2 separate regions of the Homo sapiens genome follow, and region 1 is linked to region 2. The links are contacts of gene promoters, found by promoter capture Hi-C in blood cells and fetal thymus (Javierre and others, 2016). All regions are on one chromosome and are shown on one strand. Each heading gives the region's core, a stretch centred on a gene start or on the middle of the fragment in contact. The rest is flanking DNA. Distances are from core to core; before and after follow the strand shown. Region 1 overlaps ERCC3 (ERCC excision repair 3, TFIIH core complex helicase subunit). Region 2 holds the start of GPR17 (G protein-coupled receptor 17).

Region 1 (3,341 bases), core at 842-3,341, 360 kb before region 2:
TTGTATGATTGTGTTTATATAAATTTTCCATAAAAAGCAAATCTATAGTGACAGCAGTTCAGTAGTCATCTGAAGCTAGATAGAGAAACAAAGATTGACTGCAAATGAGTACAAAGGAAATCTAAAACTGGATCATGGTGGCCGAATGCAGTGGCTCACGTCTATAATCCCAGTACTTTGGGAGGCCCAAGCAGGCAGATCACTTAAAGTCTGGACTTCAAGACCAGCCTGGCTAACATGGCGAAACCCTTTCTCTACTAAAAATACAAAAATTTGGCCAGGTGTGGTACTTTACGCCTGTAATCCCAGGGTGAGGCTGAGGTGGGCGGATCACCTGAAGTCAGGAGTTTGAGACCAGCCTGACCAACACGGAGAAACCCTGTCTCTACTAAAAATATAAAATTAGCTGGGCATGGTGGCGCACACCTGTAATCCTAGCTACTCGGGAGGCTGAGGCAGGAGAATCACTTGAACCCGGGAGGCAGAGCTTCCAGTGAGCTGAGATTGCACCACTGCACTCCAGCCTGGGCAACAAGAGCGAAACTGTCTCAAATAAAAAAAAATTAGCCGGGTGTGGTAGTACACACCTGTAGTCCCAGCTACTTGGGAGGCTGAGGCAGGGGAATCAGTTGAACCCTAGAGGCGGAGGTTGCAGTGGGCCAAGATCACACGACTGCACTCCAGCCTGGGCAACAAAGCAAGATGCCATCTCAAAAAAAAAAAGAAAAGAAAACTTGGATCATGGTCATGGTTGCACTGGTCCACAAATTTACTAAAACTCATTGGATTATATATTTACAAGGGGTGATTTTATGGTATATAAATTAAATCAATAGAGCAGCTTAAAAAAAAAAGGTTTGCCCATGATACTTGGAGAAGTAGGGCTTCTATTACATATTGACTAAGGATCAATATTCCGGGCTTCAAATAAAACACATCACCACCATTTTGGGAAGGGCTTTTCAGTGCTCCTAACCCAGTTTTTAGAGGGCCATTAAAAAACGGATGAAGCTGAGCAGCAAAAGGAAGATGGAGGAAAGAAAATATCATTTTCTAAATCACTACTGAGCCAGTGATTAAGCAAACTGTGAATGTGAACACTCCTGCCTGCATCCCACTTAAGAATTACTGGCCGGGCACGGTGGCTCACGCCTGTAATCCCAGCACTTTGGGAGGATGAGGTGGGTGGATCACGAGGTCAGGAGTTCAAGACCAGCCTGGCCAAGATGGGGAAACCCTGTCTCTACAAAAATACAAAAATTAGCCTAGCATGGTGGCAGGTGCCTGTAATCCCAGCTACTCAGAGGCTGAGGCAGAGAACTGCTTGAACCTGGGAGGTGGAAGTTGTGGTGAGCTGAGATCGTGCCACTGCACTCCAGCTTGGGTGACAGAGTGAGACTCCCTCTCAAAAAAAAAAAAAAGAACTATTAAAAGCTTTACCCAGCAAGCCAGCAAGTCTTTCTAGCCAGTTGGGTGGGCTACACAGCAGTCCCTTTCCCAACCTAACAACTGGAAATTGGTTTGTCTGTTCAGCAAGTGGACAGCTCAGCTCCAGCCTGCTTACCTGGTATGGTGTGCACTTCATCCAGGATCATGAGGCCCCACTCCTGGGTCTTGAGCCACTCCATGACTCGCTCGGCCTCCCAGGACCTTTTGGTGGTGTGGCCCAGCATGGAGTAGGTGCTAATGGCAACGGAGCAGCCGATGGGCTTGTCCTTGGCATCGGAGGTGAACCGGCAGATCTGGCTGTCGTCAATGGTGGACCACATCTTGAACTGGGCTTTCCACTGCTCCACAGAAACAGCTGAGTTGCCCAGCACCAGACAGCGTTTTCTGACAGTGCATGCAGCAGTCACACCAACCAGGGACTTTCCAGCACCTACAAGAAACAAGAGTGCAATCCCACCCAAGGACAGGTTGAAATGAAGGACAGGGACAGGCAGAATGACTCACAAGTACAGCAATCTAGGAAAATGTCTTGTAACAGTCCACATAGCTGACATCTGAGCGACACACACTGCTCCAGCCTGTTTTCTTCTTTATAATGAGGAGACATGCCCACTTCACATACATATGTGAGAAATGGCAGGCGCTGGGGCCTACTGTAGCACTTTACACACATCTCATTTAAATGTCAAAATCTCAAAACAAACCAGTGAGAAGAGAAATGCCTGTTATTGTTATTTTAAAGATAGAAAAACCTGGCTGAGCCACCATGCCACGGTGGCTCATACCTGTAATCCCAGCACTTTGGGAGGCCGAGGTGGGTAGATCACATGAGGTCAGGAGTTCAAGACCAGCCTGGCCAACATGGTGAAACCCTATCTTTACTAAAAATACAAAAAATTAGCCGGGCATGGTGGCGGGCGCCTATAATCCCGGTCACTTGGGAGGCTGAGGCAGGAGAATATCTTGAACCCAGTAGGCGGAGGTTGTGGTGAGCCAAGATGGCGCCACTACACTCCAGCATGGGCAACGGAGCAAGACTCTGTCTCAAAAAGAAAAAAGAAAGATTGAAAAACTAAAGCTGAGGAGTACTTTACCTTGCCCACAGCCACGGGACAGTGAAGCTACTGGGTCCCAGCATGCCTGGCCCACAGAAGGAGGCACTCGGCAAAAGACCACTATTATTATTACACAGCAAACGGGGCTGAGAATTCAGGGATGCGCTATGTGTGTACAGAGAAAATGAAATTCCAGGAGCTTCTGAGTTTACTACCATCCACCATTTGAAGATCAAGAGAAAAATCAAGCTTTTCCATTAAACAGAGATCCTTCCTTTATTATAAAAATACACTGTGAGTTACCAGGAATAAACGTAAATAAAAAAAATTTGTAAAGTGAAATAAAAAAGGAAAACAACATCAAAATAACCCTTGGAGTTTTGGAAAAAAAGAACCTCCCCTTCCCTGAAGACCTTGCCTCTGTAAGTCCTCAGTGGGGTCCCAAGGTGAGTCTGCTGTGGTCTCTGGCCAAGAAGCTAGGCTAGGACCTGACACTACTGGGATAAGTGGTCAAACAGGTGCCCAGGGGGCCACTCCTGCCTTTCCCTGGACCTGCACACCATCCTAGTCATCCAGGAACACCAAAGTTTCTGCGCTAGGGAGTCTCCAAATACACAACCCCTAAGGCTGATTCAAGAACAAGAACCTAACCCCACTAAGTGCAACAGCCCCTTGCCATCATTACAATCTCACCCCTCATGTGCTCTAATTTTTCTTCGCTGACTCTAGCACCACCCAAGGTTGTACACATCTGCTTACCATCTGTCTCTTCCCCAGAAGAGTGAGCTCCATGAGGTCAGAAGTGTTGTTCTAGCCACCATAATACCCCCAGTGTCC
Region 2 (3,304 bases), core at 123-2,622:
TAGCTTCAAGCCACCACCTTTCCAACCAGCCTGGGCCAGTTCTTCCAGACAGCCGCCTGCGGGCACAACAGGAAAGAGACCTGCGCCCCGGCTCAGACACCTCACACCCAGCTGGCTCTCAGGCCAGACAAACTGGGAAGCCCATCTCTCTTGAAGGAAGTCCAGATGGGAAACAGCTTCTCAACAGACCAGATCACAGCATCAGATCTAAAGGTGGCCTTCAGAATTCTTTTTCAGGTTGAATTAGGATCAAATCTAAGAATTCTAAATTCAAAATGCAGCAGAAAAACAAAACACACACACACACGGAGCCTAAGTTCTGGAGTGACATGTGCTTGGGTTCAAATCCTGGCTCTGTTGCTTCCTACTGTTTGTTGATGGGTGAGTTTCTTCATTTGCCTGAGCCTCAGTTTCCTTGTCTGTAAAATGGGGCAATAATCCCAGCTGCACAGGGTGATGTGAAGAGACAAATTTAAGACACTGCCCCTTAAATGCTAGCCACATACATACAGTTTTCAATGTTTAAACAACAAAATGTAAAGTCTTTTGAAACCAGGAAGGGTGATTTGGTTTCCCATGTTGCTGGATGTATCATTTTCAGAAAGACAGAGAGAAATGAACTTTGTTCACTCAGTCTCAGAGGCGGCCGCCGGCAGCATTCAAAGGCACCCCAGCCCGGAGCCACCCCAGGGAGGAGCCCCAGGCCAGCGGTCAGATTCATGGGCTTCCGTGCAGAAGGGGAGCTGCACCGGCGAGCACCCGGCCTCTGAGCTGAGCCGCATCCTCACGGACAGGACAGCGCCCCATTATGAGGCTCCTGCAGCTGTTCCTCGCTCCAGATAAAGGCCATGATTTATTCTGTGTGCCCAAATGGGGCCTCATTATACAGGGCAGGACACAAGGACCCTACAGCAAGTGTCCTCAAAGAGTCGCCTCTCACTCCGTGAGCAAGACTCCTCGGCCTCCCACCCTCCGTTCACAGGCCCCCTCCGCCGTCTGCGGGCGCAGGCCTGGGAGCGCCGCCTGTTGCCATGACAGCCGGCCCCTCCCTGCCCCCCATCAGTAGGAAATCATCCCCTTCTGAAACGTCCTGTTGTGTCCCTCAGCTCCAGCCCAAGCCCCCCACCCAGCCCCCGCCTGCTCTGAGTCTCTGAGACAGTCACACACTCAGACTATGTGGCCAAGCTGGGGGCGGGGGGCATGGGCTAGGGACACACTAGAATATTCACGCTCCGGTGGCAGCAGCAGCAGCAGCCAGAGGAGCAGCCCGACACAACAAGGGACCCCTCAGGAATGAAGCAGCCTTTCAGGGCCAGAGGGGCTGTGGTCTCCCTTCCTCTCCTTAAATAGCCAGCGTTCCACCCACAGCGGCAAGGAGCCCCCTGCCACCACCGACACCCACGGGCGGAGATCACCTGCTGCCCCGCAGACCCCTGTCCCTTCCTCCCGGACCAGCAGCTAGAGGTAAGGGGCAGGCTGGGTGGGGTGGACTGGGAGCCCAGGGCTAAGCAGAGGAAACACTCAGCGGGGAGCCCTGCCCAGGGAGACAGGCAGCAGCCTGTCTCGTCCCATCTCTTTGGTGATGGTCTGACCTGTGCATCGAAGGCTGACCACAGTCTGAATTCACAGCAGCCCACAAAGCGGTGTTTCGTCCCTCTGATGGGGGCTTGCAGAGGGGAAGTGGCTTGCCGGCAGTCCAGGCTGCAATGACAGCACCGCTGCCCCTAACCATTAGGCAGCCTTGACCCATAGAGGAGCCAGATGCCTGGGAGAGGGCTCGGGCCAGGGATGGAGTGGCGCTAATGCAAAGGAAACTGCCACCACCTGGCCATGGCGCTGCCACCACAGGCCCTCCCCGAGGCCACACATGCCCACCTGCCACCTCCACAGAGGCCTATGACCTGTCCTAGATGCTCGACTCACCCACAGCCACGGGACCCAACACTGCCCAGGCCCCGGCCCATGCCACGCCCTTTCCTCTTACGGACACCGGCTCGGTGGCCGTCTGACCAGTGAGTCGTGAGGAACCAGCGAGTCTAGACTGAAGTTTGTGTTTCTAAAGGGCAACAGAGAGTGAAGCGGGGCCCATCTCAGACCAAACTGCAACAATCAGTATCAGAACTCCTCAAACGGGGGACAGAAAGGGAGAAGAAACCTCAGCAAACCTGAAACCAACCAGAAAGCTGTTTAAAATGGAGTCTCAGTCCCAGAGAGAGCGAGGGGCACGCCCTTCGGCCCGGGCAGGAAGTGGAGGGCAGTGCCCAGGCTGAGGCCCCCGGGCTGGAGGCAGGAGGCACCACAGGCCCACCTGGTGCCATGAGATATGCCACCCCTGCCGTCACTCAGGGCCCTGAGCCCAGTAACACTCTGCCGTCACTGTCCTGAAACTCTTCCTTTTTGAGCAAGGGGCTGCACATTCTCATTTCATACATGGGCCCCTAAAATGAGGGAGTGGCCCCAGGGCCAGGAGGGGGTGCTGAGCCTGGGAGACAACTCCATGGCAAACTCTGAGACTGAGTCACACTCCCCACCCTGGCGGTCTTCCAGGGAGTGAGACCGTTTCCCCGGTCTCACTTCCAGCTCCAGGGCCAATGTCCCCTGGTCAAGTGACCTAAGACAAGTTAGCAGACACTCAGCCTTGACTCCCTAACCTGCAACATGGGGCTAAAACTGGTTTGAGCCAGCACAGGCAGGCCCCCACCATGCCAGGCAGAGTGGTCAGTCGTACCTATGAGCTGCTCTCTCGTGGGGCCAGGTGATGCCTGCACTGTGGGGCACAGCACAGGCCTGAGGGACAGCCTGGGGTGGAGGGCACCCACCTTGGCCCCTTCCCACCCCCAGGTTCTAACAAGGGCCCCTCACTCACTGGGCCCCCTCTCCTCTTCCAGTCTCCAGGGCCTCCCCGCACACACCTTCCTCCTCTCCTGCCAACCTGAAAACAGCACACCTGTGTGCCCCTCCCATCTACCATGGGCTGTCCTCTCTGCTTGCCCATGCGTCTGCCCTGGAGCCCTGTTCCTCCAGTCTCCGGGTCCTCACCCCCAGCACATGCAACACGACACCCTCAAAGTCATGGGCCCCCCTCCCCTGCCACCGTCCCACCGGTACCTGCTCCCTGTTCTCCCCTGCCTCACAGGCCCTGTCAAGGGCTGTGTTCCTCCCTCCTTTTACCTCTCCTCCACAGCCCCCTTCACAGCCCTCAGCCCTTCCCCAGGGCTTCAGCCAAGCCTGTCTCCCTCTCCCAAGCATCACTCACCCCGCCTTCTTCGGCCCTCAGCTCTCCGCCCTCACCGTGGTTTTAGCA

The links. The method cuts DNA at HindIII sites, captures the fragments that hold promoters and counts their contacts. A CHiCAGO score of 5 or more calls a contact.
Region 1: a contact is called between a fragment that was not itself captured here and the fragment with the promoter of GPR17 in region 2, in 1 of 17 cell types (neutrophils). The highest score is 5.2, in neutrophils.

Annotation. Positions count from the first base shown.
Region 1 is chr2:127,285,139-127,288,479 of GRCh38, forward strand. It overlaps ERCC3 (ERCC excision repair 3, TFIIH core complex helicase subunit), which reads right to left. Exons shown (of 15, transcript NM_000122.2): 8 at 1,565-1,879. Among named protein-coding and RNA genes, the nearest start is that of ERCC3, 7.3 kb to the right of the region's middle. The HindIII fragment of the contact is 1,319 bases long and covers 1,433-2,751 here.
Region 2 is chr2:127,644,781-127,648,084 of GRCh38, forward strand. It overlaps GPR17 (G protein-coupled receptor 17), which reads left to right and starts at 1,373. Exons shown (of 2, transcript NM_001161417.2): 1 at 1,373-1,464. All of the region lies in intron 4 of LIMS2 (LIM zinc finger domain containing 2), which reads right to left. The HindIII fragment of the contact is 22,539 bases long and covers 1-3,304 here.